Linked DNA regions of Homo sapiens: regions 2 and 3 are each linked to region 1. The links are contacts of gene promoters, found by promoter capture Hi-C in human tissues and cell types (Jung and others, 2019). All regions are on one chromosome and are shown on one strand. The core of a region is centred on a gene start or on the middle of the fragment in contact, and the rest is flanking DNA. Distances in the headings are between cores, read along the strand shown.

Region 1 (4,496 bases), core at 1,628-4,127:
GGGGAACTGAAAGTAGTTCAGTCCAGCTGGGGAGGAGAGTGTGAGGCTGTGAGGAGAGGAAGGATGGAGAGGTAGGCTAGATAATAAAAAGCTTTGAAGCTATGACGCGAATTTTAAACTTCATCCTAAAGATAGTGGGGACCTCTAAAGACTTAAACAGAAAACTCATGATGAAGTTTGTGTTTCAGAATGATCATTCTGGCTGTGGAGAGTGGATATAGAGAAACAGTCCTGGAAGGAAGAAAAGTAGGGTGGAGGCTTTTATAATAGTCCAGGTGGTAGGGGACAGTGGCTTGGACCAGAGTAGTGGCAGTAGAATTGGAGAGTCTAGAGATTTGGGAGGCAGAATTGGCAGGACTTGGGATTGACAGGCATGTGGGAGTTGAGGAAGAGGGAGCAGTCAAAGTTGACTCCCAGTTTCTGGCTTGGACGACGGCTGGATGGGAGTGCTATTCCCTGGTAAAGGGAACATCAGAGCTGTCAGCACTCAGTGCTAGGTACATAGTAAGTACTTGGTGAAGGGTAGCCATGATTGCTATCATGAGTTCAGTTTTAGATGTGTAGTGAGTGAAATATATGGGGCTGGAGTGAGATGATCATGAGAAGATTCAATGTGATAATGTGCATAGGCATTTGGCACAGAGCCCTGAACACAACAGGCCCGGTAAACGTGAAAGTCCCCTCCTATTAAGTCTCATGAGCAGAAAACACTACTTAGAGCCCATTTATTACTTACACCTTTCAGGGAAGAATTTCAACTAGGGTTAGTATCTCAAGGGAGGCAAGGCTATACTCAAAACAGCTTTCCCATGGTCTCTTTCAGTCAACCTGTTGTATGGTTTGTCTCCTAAGACTGGAAGTGAACTCCAAATACCTTCTTGGTTCATCAGCTCATCTGAACCCCATAACCATTCCCTGAGGTAGTCTGGGCAGGTATTATCATTCCTGTTTTACACATGGGTAATCTCAAAAGTGACACAATGACTTGCTCAAGGTCATACAGTTGGTAATGGTCCATCTGTGCCTGGAACTGAGGTCTTTCTGGCTCCAAAGCCTGGGATCCTTCCACTGCACCACCATGCAGACTACTTTATTGAACACTTCCTATGTGCTGGGCACAGCACCAGGCCCTTCACAAGCATTAATCTCTGATCCTCGGATTAGAATTATTGCCAATTTATAGAATAGAAATTAAGGATGGGTGCTCACTTCGCACCACATATACTAAAATTAGAACGATACAGAGATTAGCATGGCACTATGCGAAAGGATGACACGCAAATACGTGAAGCGTTCTATAAAAAAGTAAACAACAACAACAAAAATTGAGGACGGGGTGGGTTTTAAATGACTGACAAAGATCACTCAGACAGGAAGGGCAGAGCTAGGATTAGCGTGTAGCTCTCCAGCTACTCAATAGCAGGGATTCTGCCAACCCCATTTTGAGACGCTGACTGGTGACAGAGCTTTCATAAACCTCGATCGACCCAAGCAAACTCAGTTTTAGAAAAAGGCTGGGCTTGGCCAGGCGCGGTGACTAACGCCTGTAATCCCAGCACTCTGGGAAGCCGAGGCGGGAGGATCGCTTGAGCCCGGGAGCTGGAGATCAGCCTGGGCAACATAGTGAGACTTTGTCCCTACAAAAAAGTGAAAAAAAAATTAGCCGGTCGTAGTGGTGCGCGCCTGTGGTCCCAGCTATTCGGGAGGCTGAGGCGGGAGGATCGCTTGAACCTGGGAGTTGGAGTTTGCAGTGAGCTATGATCGCGCCACTGCATTCCAACCTGGGCGACAGAGTGAGACCCCTGTCTCAATTAGGAAAAAAAAAAAAAAAAAAAAAAAAAAAGGCTGGGCCGCGCCTGCGCACTAGCCATAGGGGCGGGGAGGTCAACGCGAGGCCGAGAGTGCTGTGGTGCCAGAGAAGGCGTGTCTGTTTCCCAAACAACCACTGTCCCCACGGCGCCTGTCTGTCCCAAGGTTGGTCGGTATGCCGCGAGTGACGGCGTCTCTTAACCAATCACCGCAGAACTCAGGCTGTTGCCGGGGCGAAGCGGTGTCCGCCTCCCCCGGAAGGGTATTTGTAGGTGGGTGGGACCGGAAGTGACGCTACAGGGGCCAGCTATGCTCCCGGGAGTGTTGATGTTTTCCAGTCATTCCGGCTGACAGCGTTCAAGTTGGAATCCTGGAGGGGAGGTGTTTTTCCTGTCGTACGTGGGACAGGCCACGCTGTCCGTCCGCAGTACCGACGCCTGCAGGTCAGAGCTTCGGGGAGAAAAGTGAAGAGCAAGACGGAACTGACGGGGAGAAAGGCTGGGAACCAGGGTGTCGACTTTGACTGAAATTTGAGACGGAGGGCACCGGAGGGCGAGCACTCGCCTGTGATTGGCCCGTGGGCGTCGTCGAGGTCCCACGCAGCTGCTCAATTGGTTGGTGTTGCAATTGTTGTGGCGGCGGCGGCGGCGATTTTGCCCACGTACTTCCGAGTAAGGGGCGGGGCTGTGCCCTGGCGCGCGTGCGCAGCGCCCCGGGGCCCCACCCGGTAGTGCAAGAACCTGCGAGGGGGCGGAGCGAAGAGGTGCTTGTTTTGGTTCTGTTTCCTTTGAAGCAGAAGGCCGGAACAAGCGTAGCAATAAACTTGCTGGACTTGGAGAGAAGGCTAAGACAAACTCGCCGCACTGCCTTCATCTTGGACTTTACATCCGGGTTCTCCTCTCGGCGTGACCCGCGCGCCGCCACCGCCGCCGCCGCCGCCGCCGCCTCCTCCGCCGCCGAGGGTTCTCGAACCGGTGCCGCGATCCCTTTATCCGGGTCTCGCCGTTCCCGTCGTGCCTCGCGCACTACACTAGCCCCCTCATCCGGGTTCTCTCCCGGCGTGCCCCGCGCCGGGTTTGTTGGGGGGTACTCGGCAGTGCAGCCATGACTATACTCCCCAAAAAGAAGCCGCCGCCTCCCGACGCCGACCCCGCCAACGAGCCGCCGCCGCCCGGGCCGATGCCCCCGGCGCCGCGGCGCGGCGGAGGTGTGGGCGTGGGCGGCGGCGGCACGGGCGTGGGCGGCGGCGATCGCGACCGTGACTCCGGCGTCGTGGGGGCCCGTCCGCGAGCTTCGCCACCGCCTCAAGGCCCGCTACCAGGACCGCCGGGCGCTCTTCATCGCTGGGCGCTGGCCGTGCCGCCTGGTGCAGTGGCGGGTCCCCGGCCACAACAGGCTTCTCCACCTCCTTGCGGGGGCCCAGGTGGTCCCGGCGGCGGTCCCGGCGACGCGCTGGGCGCAGCGGCGGCGGGTGTGGGTGCCGCGGGCGTGGTGGTGGGTGTGGGTGGTGCCGTAGGCGTGGGCGGCTGCTGCTCCGGGCCTGGGCACAGCAAGCGGCGACGTCAAGCTCCCGGGGTTGGCGCGGTTGGCGGGGGCAGTCCCGAGCGTGAGGAGGTCGGCGCAGGCTACAACAGTGAGGACGAGTATGAGGCGGCTGCAGCACGCATCGAGGCTATGGACCCTGCCACTGTCGAGCAGGTAAGAGCTGTGGGGTGAGGGGTGAGCGGCCACGGCAGATGGGACCCCCAGACTGTGAAGGGACTCAAGGAAGGCTGTTTGAGATCGCCCCAAGGGATCTAGGCGTTTTCACTGGGCCTGACAGTCTTCTCTGGCGGTAGGGATGTGAGACACCTTCTTTCCTCCCCTCCAGGATTTTGGGGCTAGAGGCCTACGGTAAGGTGTCAGACTTAAAGATCCGAGGTCTCTTTTAAGGTCTATAGTCGTCATTCCAGTCCCTGGGACCTCATCATATAGGGCCAATAGGTGGGAATTCTCCAAGAGATACAGGTAGGATCGCGCCCCTCTTGAGTAGGAGTCTCAGGTCTCCCAAGAGACTTAGGTATGTGTTCAGTGGCTTAAGAGCTCTTTTCCTCTGGGATAGAAGTTTGAGATTCCCCTTCCAGGAAAGTCAAATAAGGTGGAGACCTCGGAGATCGGGGCTGAACATCCCCAAGGAGCCTAAGCCCTTTCAAGAGTCTGAGACACTCTGCATATAGGACAATCCTCTCCCGCTTCGCTGGGTAACACTGCACAGGACCACTGAATAGCCAGACCTGAGACCTCAAGGGTCCTAAGTCTGTCTTCAGGGGCCTGAGAGTCCTGCTTCTAGAATCAAGGTCCTGACACACACACACACACACACGCCCCCTTTAAGGATAGGGATCTTCTAAGCTTTTTCCAGGGATGTAAGACTTTTCACAGGGAGATATGATTCCCTTGCCCTTGGGGACAGGGACCAAAACCAACACCCAATGACCAGCAGCTTTACTTATCTCCTTTCTGAGTGACAAAGGTCTGCATTTCCTATCAGTGGCCTGAGACCTACCTCTTGGGAGACAAGGGCCTGAACCGCTTCAGGATCTTAAGCTTCTTGTAAGAAGAGATGGGCCCTCAGCACCCCCACCAGGGGCCTGAACCTTTCTTCAGGAAAATGAGACTCACAGCGTTGGATCCTAGGGCCTAAGATC
Region 2 (4,255 bases), core at 1,171-3,670, 170 kb after region 1:
GTAATGTTTGATGATTTTCTGTCTTCTTTTCTGTCTTCCCATGTTTCTCTCTCTGGCTCTCTCTTTCTGTTACTCTTGCTTTCTCCCTCTCCTCTCCTATCTCTCTGAACATCTCTGCATCTCTCCCACTCTTCCTGCTTGTTTGTCTGTTCCCTCTGTTTCCCTCTCTTTGGGCCCTCTGACCTTATGTCCACGTGCCTCTTACTAGTCCCATACCCCTGACCGTACCCAGCCACATGCAGCTCAGGATAAGGAGCCTGGAATGCTGGCCCTGGCCCTATTGTGCTGGCCTGCTCTGTTTCTGTGTCTGTAGGGTGGAGTGACAGGGCTAGACTAGAAGGCTGTCTTCAAACTGCCCCTCACTCCTGCTTACATGACCCATGGTATAGACAGGCTAAGGGGCAGGCCCAGGCTTGGGAGTTATGCTAGGAAAGAGATGGGCCACAAGTGTGCCCACCGCCAACACCTTCTCAGCCCCAGGGTGCCTGCTGTTGCTCTCTGAAGAGAGTGTTTTGCTTCCCCATCTTGGTCTCCATCTCTTTCCTCTCTGTCTCTAATTCTGTGTTAGTCTCTGCCTCTTCACAGTGCTACCTGCGTGTATCTCTGCATTTCTATCTCCTTTTCTGCTCCCGGGTCTTTCCTTCTTTTTCTCCGGCCATCTGTCTGTCTCTGTCTCTTACTCGTTGAGTTTCTCTCTCTCTGTTTTTCCTTTCTCTTCATGTCTCTTTTGTCTCTTGCTCTTTGTCTCTGTGTCTCTGTCTCTCTCTTCCCATCTCTCCCTGTTTCTCCCTCTCTTCCCTGTCTCATTGTGTGTCTTCTGCTCACTCTTTCACCACTATTCCCTCATCCCCTCAACTCCACCTTACCCACCATGATCTCCCTCCAGCCCCACTGCCCCCAACCCCTGCACCTCACACGTTGGTGAGTCCAGGGCTGCCCACCCCTCCCATGGCAGGGGCCCAGCCTCCTCACCCCCAGTTATCACTCTCCGGACAGAGATAAAGTTTATCTCGAGGCTGGGGGATATGAAAGCTCCTTATCAGCTGCCCCACTAGAGTAAGTGTTGCCCCAACGGCGGCAGCAGGCAGCAGCTGGCACCCTCCACTCTCCCTCGGCCCCAGCCCCTCACCCCAGGTAACGTTCCAATCCCAGCCCTCAAGGGAGGGTCTCACCGGGCTGAAGGGAGCAGATATAAGGTCTAGGGGGCAGATATGGGGCTTAGGGGGAGATAGAGGTGGAATTTGAAGGTCAGATATGGGGTTAAGTCAGAGAGGTTTGGGGTGTAGCCATGGAGTTTGTGGGGAGGCAGATATGGGCGGGGTTGTGGAGCAGAGACGAGCTTGGAAGTTCAGAGACACATTTTGGGCTCAGGAATAGGTTGTGAAAACAGACGAGGTTGGGGGATCGGGGCGAAGTTTGAGAGTCAGAAATAAAGTTGAGAAGTAGTGTGGGAGTCAGATTCTGAGGGTCATAGAAAAGTCTGGGGAGTTCAAGGGTTTTTCTGGAGGAGAGATGGAGTTTAGGAGTCAAAGATCTGTTTGGGCAGACAGAATGTGGCTAGTAAAGGGGAGTTTGAGAAGCCAAGATAGAATTGGAGTAGAGAAAGGCTTGGAGCTGGAGAGATTCAGGGAGACAATGAGATGTGTTTTAGGGCTGAGATACGGTTTGGGGAAGGCAGACATGAGGGTTCATGCGGCAGAACAGATTTTGGGGAGTTGACTTGGTGTTTGAAGTGACAAAGATATTTTACTGAGCAGGCAGGGAGTTGGGAGAGATAAATGGTTTGCGGAGATCAGAGAGAAGTCATTGGGAACAAAGAGTGGGTTTGAAAGGCAGAGATGGTGGTAAGAGGATGGAGCTAGGGTTTGGCAGATCAGAGACAGGTTTGGGGGCTCAGAGAGAGTGGGGCAAAGACAAGGCGTTGTAGAGCAGATAAGGGGTTTGGGAGCAGAAAAGTGAGGTTTGGAGGAGAAGTCAGGGAGACAGAGACAAGTTTGGGTGAGTGGAAATCAGATATGGGACAGGGAAAGGATTTGGGGAGATAAAGTCATGTTTTGGGAGACAGAGTTAGTGTTTAGGGGAGACAGACCTAGGGGTATAGCGAGCAAAGTGAAGGGATCCAGAGGATATAGATATCTTGGACGGAGTGGATGAGAGGGCAGAAAGAGGTGGGGTTTAGGGGGTAGATTTGGGGTAGAAATGGGAGTTGGAAAGACAGGTGGGTTGGAGGAGCTGTAAAGGGATTCAGGGCTGGCTGACACTTTGGGGACCAGCTGTGGGTTGGGGAGCCTGGAGCAAGCATAAGGGTAGGGGCAGCAGGCCCAGGGTTGCCTTGGTGGGGGCTCTCTGGGGGCTGAGACTGACCTGGGCTGGTGGTTGCGGAGGGTTCGGCCGCCTTGGGGATGTGGCAAGCTCAGTGTGATCCCAGGGGGTGTCCTGGCTGGCCTTGGCCTTTGAGGCTCCCTTCCTCCCTCCCTCCCTCCCTCCCTTCTCCCTCCTCCCTCCTCCCCAGGGAGTGGCTGGTGCCCCAGTGGGTGGGGCAGTCCAGGGGAGGGGGCGGGTCCCATGCTTGTGGGGCACCTCTTGGGCACTGGAGGCCCTCTTCCACCCTCCCTGCCCACCCTGGGGATTCTTGGACCTCGCTCGACCTAGGCTCCCGTGGACTGTAGTGTCCAGACAAGCAAAATAGGCTGAAACCAAGATAAATGAAAATAGCAGATATGGTTTCATGACTTCACTGGGCTTTTCAGAGAGTAAAGCCCTTAATTTGTGCGGGGCCGGTGTGGGCTAGACTCCTGTGTATGTGCGTCTTCCTGGCTGCAGGGAGAGAAGGGATGTGGCTGTACCCATTTTGCAGGTGAGAAGAGTGAGGCTCAGAGAGGTTCTGCTGGATTTGAACTAGAGCCTGTGGGATACCTTGATGACCCAGGCTAAGCCTGCAGGCCAGGCCAGTGCTGGCGGGAGGCAGGGGCACACTCACTTAGCGCCCCACTGGGGCTTACGCCAGCTCCGGCCTGCCCTGGGGCAGCAGATAAGTCTTATCAGATGTAGGCGACCGTGGCTGTTGGCGCCGCAGTAACAGGCTGTCTTGGGGTGAGGGTGTGGGGGTAGGAACACCCAGGGACAGTGGCCTCAACTTCTTGCCCGCCATGCTGCCTTGGAGGCGGGAAACTGAGGTGGGAGCCAGGGATGATTCCTCGAGGAGTGGTATAGGGTAGGAAAGGAAAGGGGTGGAGTGGGAGAGACAGAGGCAGAGAGACAAACAAAAACAGAGATAGGCGGAGAGAGATGGAAATGGGGAGAAAGAGAGTGACAGAGATGAATAGAGAAGGAGACAGACGTGGAAAGAGGCAGAGAGAGGGCACAAAAGAAAAGGAGAGACAAAGAGGGCGAGACACCCGGGGAGAACCAGAGACCATTAAAGACATATAGAGAGAGGCAAAGAGAGAATGAGAGACAGAGATGGACAGAAGTGACAGATAAAACCTGAAAGGGAAAGAGGCCAAAGACAGAAGTGGAGAACTGAGAAGGGAGACAGAGACAGAGGGATATTCAGAGACAGACTCAGAAGAAGGTCCAGGCAGACTGGATCACACCCTGGGCATGTGGTGCCCATGCAGGTAGGATGGGAGGATGTGGATTGATGTAGCCTGTGGCTCTGCCCTCAGCCCTCAGCAGGGGACAACCAGAATGTGGCTAGGCCTCCGCACCCCAGTCCCCACACTCTTGCCCTGCCCCACCTCCTCCAAATATTAATGACAACAACCACAGTGTCTCATAGACCTCACATAGACTTGTACCTAACCTGAGCACTTTTTCTATATGAAAGCATCTGACACACATGCACACGTGGGACAAGGAGCTGTCCTGCCCACCTAGTCTACAGATGGGGAGACTGAGACCTACAAAGGGCAGAGGCCAAGGGTGGAGCCCCAGGTCAGTGGGGTCAGCTTGCCCACTGGCCCACCCTGGAGGGATCTTACCATTCTTATCTCACTCCTCTGAGCCTCAGTGTCCTCATATGCAATGGGAGATTTGAGGAGGAAAGAGAGCAAGCCCATGAATTCCTATTTATTGAGCTCCTGCTGGTGTGCCACGCCCCATGCTGAACCCTCATCAGTAATAAGGAGAACGAATACAAAGACACCTCTGACTTAAGTGGCAGTGGTTTCAGGAGATGGTCTCTAGAGCCAGCTCATCCTCGTTCATAGACTGCCCTAACCACTAATGGATCAGGTGACCTTGGGAGAGTTAC
Region 3 (4,018 bases), core at 337-2,836, 190 kb before region 1:
GTGAGGAGACACAGAACTTTTCAAATGGGGGTCCCAACAGCAATGAGCTTTTCATGAGTTAAAAGAGAAACTCATGTCGGCCCCAGCCCTGGGGCTACCTGACCTAACAAAACCTTTCACACTGTATGTGTCAGAGAGAGAAAAAATGGCCATTGGAGTTTTAATCCAGATGGTGGGGCCCTGGCCAAGACCGGTAGCCTACCTCTCCAAAGAGCTAGATGGAGTTTCTAAGGCAAGGTCTGAAAGATGCGAGATGTAGAAGTACCAGCCTAACAACTTTTCAAGTGACTCTTGGCCTAGGTGGGTGGTCTCATGCACAGCCAGTATGACTGCGGCTCCTAGCAGTTGTGGCATGGCTATTCTTCCATCCGACAACTGGATCCATCCCTCTTCTATCACCTGCCCTCCCTCTGCCTGGAGAAAGTCCAGGCAGGATGAATTGCTGGTGAATTATCTCATGCCCCCTGACAGTGCAGGTCTGGGGCAAACAGAAAGCTTGCTTTGCCGAAACCCCCGTGGCTCCAATTATATCAATAGTCTTTTTGGATAAGGGGGCGACTGGGGTGGTTACTACTGAATGTTCAGCACCAGTATCGACAAGAATTATCTGTCGATAATTGAGCCTGGCCCCTGTGCTTAAGAGCCTTGGCAGCAACTGCCCTGCTAGCACTAGAGGCAGATAAGCTACCTCTTGCCCTAACTTTATGTTTAGGGCAAAACCTAAACATAAAGGCCCCCTAGCTGGGCACGGTGGTTCACGCTTGTAATACCAGCACTTTGGGAGGCTGAGGCGGGCGGGTCATGAGGTCAGGAGATCGAGATCATCCTGGCTAACACGGTGAAACCCCATCTCTACTAAAAATACAGAAAAATTAGCCGGGCATGGTGGCGGGCGCCTGTAGTCCCAGCTACTCGGGAGGCTGAGGCAGGAGAATGGCGTGATCCCGGGAGGCAGAGCTTGCAGTGAGCCAAGATCGCACCACTGCACTCCAGCCTGGGCAACAGAGTGAGACTCCATCTCAAAAAAAAGAAAAAACATAAAGGCCTCCCCATGCTGTGGTAACACTAATGAACACCAAAGGACGTAACTGGCTAACGAATGCTAGACTAACTAGGTACCAAAGCTTGCTCTGTGAGAATCCCCGCATAACCATTGAAGTTTGCAACACCCTGAACCCCGCCACCTTGCTCCTGGTATCAGAGAGCCAAGTTGAACATAACTGTGTAGAGGTGTTGCAGTCAGTTTATTCTAGCAGGCCCGACCTCCGAGACCATCCTTGGACAACAGTAGACTGGGAGCTGTACGTGGACGGGAGCAGCTTTGTCGACCCACAAGAAGAGAGGTGTGTAGGATATGGTAATCCTGGATGCTGTCATTGAAGCCAAATCGTTGCCCTAGGGCACTTCAGCCCGCAAGACCAAACTCATTGCTTTAATTCTGGCCTTTGAGCTAAGTGAAGGTAAGACTGTAAACATTTACACTGACTCTTGGTATGCCTTTTTAACTCTCCAACTGCGTGGGGCATTCTACAAGGAAAAAGCCCTGTTGAACGCTGGGAGAAAAGACATAAAGTATCAGCAAGAGATCCTGCAATTATTAGAGGCAGTGTGGAAGCCCCAAAAGGTGGCTCATGCACTGCAGAGGACACCAGCGAGCTTCTACCTCGATTGCCTTGGGGAACCCCCAAGCTGACTCAGAGGCTCGAAAAGCAGCATCCACCCCCTACCAGGCATCAGTCACAGCCCCCTGCTCCCTCAGGCACCTGACCTTGTACCTACTTATTCTAAAGAGAAGGACTTTCTCCAGGCAGAGGGAGGGCAGGTGATAGAAGAGGGATGGATCCAGTTATCGGATGGAAGAATAGCTGTGCCACAACTGCTAGGAGCCGCAGTCATACTGGCTGTGCATGAGACCACCCACCTAGGCCAAGAGTCACTTGAAAAGTTGTTAGGCTGGTACTTCTACATCTTGCATCTTTCAGCCCTTGCCAAAACAGTGGCGCAGCAGTGTGTCACCTTCTGGCAGCACAATGCTAGGCAAGGTCTAACCATCCCCGCCAGCATACAAGCTTATGGAGCAGCCCCTTTTGAAGATCTCCAAGTAGACTTCACCAAGATGCCCAAATGTGGAGGTAACAAGTATTTGCTAGTTCTAGTGTGTACATACTCTGGGTGGGTGGAGGCCTATCCAACACGGACCGAGAAAGCTCGTGAAGTAACCCATGTGCTTCTCCGAGATCTCATCCCTAGGTTTGGACTGCCCTTACAAATCAGCTCAGACAACGGGCCGGCATTTGTGGCTGACTTGTTACAGAAGACAGCAAAGGTATTGGGGATCACATGGAAACTACATACCACCTACTGACCACAAAGTTCCGGAAAGGTGAAGCAGATGAATCGCACTATCGGAAATAGTTTAGGGAAAGTGTGTCAAGAAACAGGATTAAAGTGGGTACAAGCTCTCCCTATGGTATTATTTAAGATTAGATGTACCCCTTCTAGAAGAACAGGATATTCCCCTTATGAAATATTATATCATAGGCCCCCTCCCATACTACGGGGACTCCCAGGCACTCCTCGAGAGCTAGGTGAAATTGCGTTACAGCGACAGCTACAGGCTTTAGGGAAAATTACACAATTTCAGCCTGGGTAAATGAGAGGTGCCCCGGCAGCTTATTCTCCCCAGTTCACCCTTTCTCCCCAGGTGATCAGGTGTGGATCAAGGATTGGAACATAGGCTCCTTGCGGCCACGGTGGAAAGGACCCCAGACCATCATCTTGACCACTCCCACAGCCGTAAAGATAGAGGGAATCCCAGCCTGGATCCAACACAGCCAGGTAAAACCTGCAGCACCTGAGACCTGGGAGGTGAGACCAAGCCTAGATAACCCCTGCAAAGTGACTCTGAAGAAGATGACAAGCCCTGCTCCAGTCACACTCAGAAGCTGACTGGTCCACGCATGGCCAAAGCATGAGAAAACTCATCGTGGGACTCATTTTCCTTAAATTTTGGACTTGTACAGTAAGGACTTCAGCTGACCTTCCTCAGACTGAGAACTGTTCCCAGTCACTAAGGTAGGACAAAATCAAGTCACTAAGGTAGGACAAAAGGTTGCTGCAGTCCTATTATTTTATAGTTAGTATGAGTGTACTGGGACTCTAAAAGGAACTTGTTTGTATAATGCTACTCTATACAAGGTATGTAGCCCAGGAAGTGACCAGTCTGATGTGTACTATAACCCATCTGAGCCCCCCTATGACTACTGTTTTTGAAATAAGATCGAGGACTGGCAGCTGGGGAAAAGCTGATACTAGTAAAGTAATAACTAGAACAGAAGAGAAAGGAGTCCCCAAACAAATTATCTTAAAATTTGATGCCTGTGCAGCAATCAACAGTGACCCATATGGAAATAGAATAAGATGTGGCTCTCTAGATTGGGAAAGGGGCTATATAGTAGAAAATAAGTATGTTTGTCATGAATTAGGACTGTGAAGTGATGAATGTAGTTACTGGTCCTGTGTCATTTAGGCCACCTGGAAAAAAAGATGAGAAGGACCCTGTCCGCCTTCAAAAAGGAAAGAGTAACTCTTCCTGCACTAGTGGTCACTGTAACCCATTGAACTACTAATTACCAATCCCCTTGATCCCTGCTGGAAAACAGGAGAGTATGTAACTCTAGGAATCGATGGAACTGGACTGGATCCCTGAGTAAATATTTTAGTCCAAGGGGAGGTCCACAAGCGATCTTCCAAACCAGTGTTTCAGACCTTTTATGATGAGCTGAATCTGCCAGCACCAGAGCTTCCACAAAAAAGGACAAAGAACTTGTTTCTCCAGTTAGCAGAATATGTAGCTCATTCCCTCAATGTTACTTCCTGTTATGTATGTGAGGGAACCACTATGGGAGACTGATGGCCTTGGGAAACCCAAGAATTAGTGCCTACTGATCCAGTTCCTGACATAATTCCAGTCCAGAAGGCCCAAACTAGCAACTTTTGGGTCTTGAAAACCTCTATT

Evidence for each region. The method cuts DNA at HindIII sites, captures the fragments that hold promoters and counts their contacts. A contact is called where the count stands out against the background at its distance.
Region 2: a contact is called between the fragment with the promoter of GATA1 here and the fragment with the promoter of OTUD5 in region 1, in 1 of the 25 tissues and cell types used here (pancreas).
Region 3: a contact is called between a fragment that was not itself captured here and the fragment with the promoter of OTUD5 in region 1, in 1 of the 25 tissues and cell types used here (dorsolateral prefrontal cortex).

Annotation. Positions count from the first base shown.
Region 1 is chrX:48,955,988-48,960,483 of GRCh38, reverse strand. It overlaps OTUD5 (OTU deubiquitinase 5), which reads left to right and starts at 2,877. Exons shown (of 9, transcript NM_001136157.2): 1 at 2,877-3,507. The coding sequence starts at 2,914. It also overlaps the pseudogene RNU6-722P. RefSeq lists an enhancer at 2,131-2,320 and silencers at 2,421-2,580, 2,781-2,830, 3,201-3,260. The HindIII fragment of the contact is 5,335 bases long and covers 1-4,496 here.
Region 2 is chrX:48,784,755-48,789,009 of GRCh38, reverse strand. GATA1 (GATA binding protein 1) reads right to left here and starts at 2,420. Exons shown (of 6, transcript NM_002049.4): 1 at 2,365-2,420. RefSeq lists cis regulatory regions at 2,173-3,293, 3,733-4,255. The HindIII fragment of the contact is 13,466 bases long and covers 1-4,255 here.
Region 3 is chrX:49,141,029-49,145,046 of GRCh38, reverse strand. LOC105373195 (a long non-coding RNA gene) reads left to right here. Exons shown (of 3, transcript XR_007068230.1): 3 at 1-4,018. Among named protein-coding and RNA genes, the nearest start is that of GPKOW, 19 kb to the right of the region's middle. The HindIII fragment of the contact is 3,834 bases long and covers 1-3,503 here.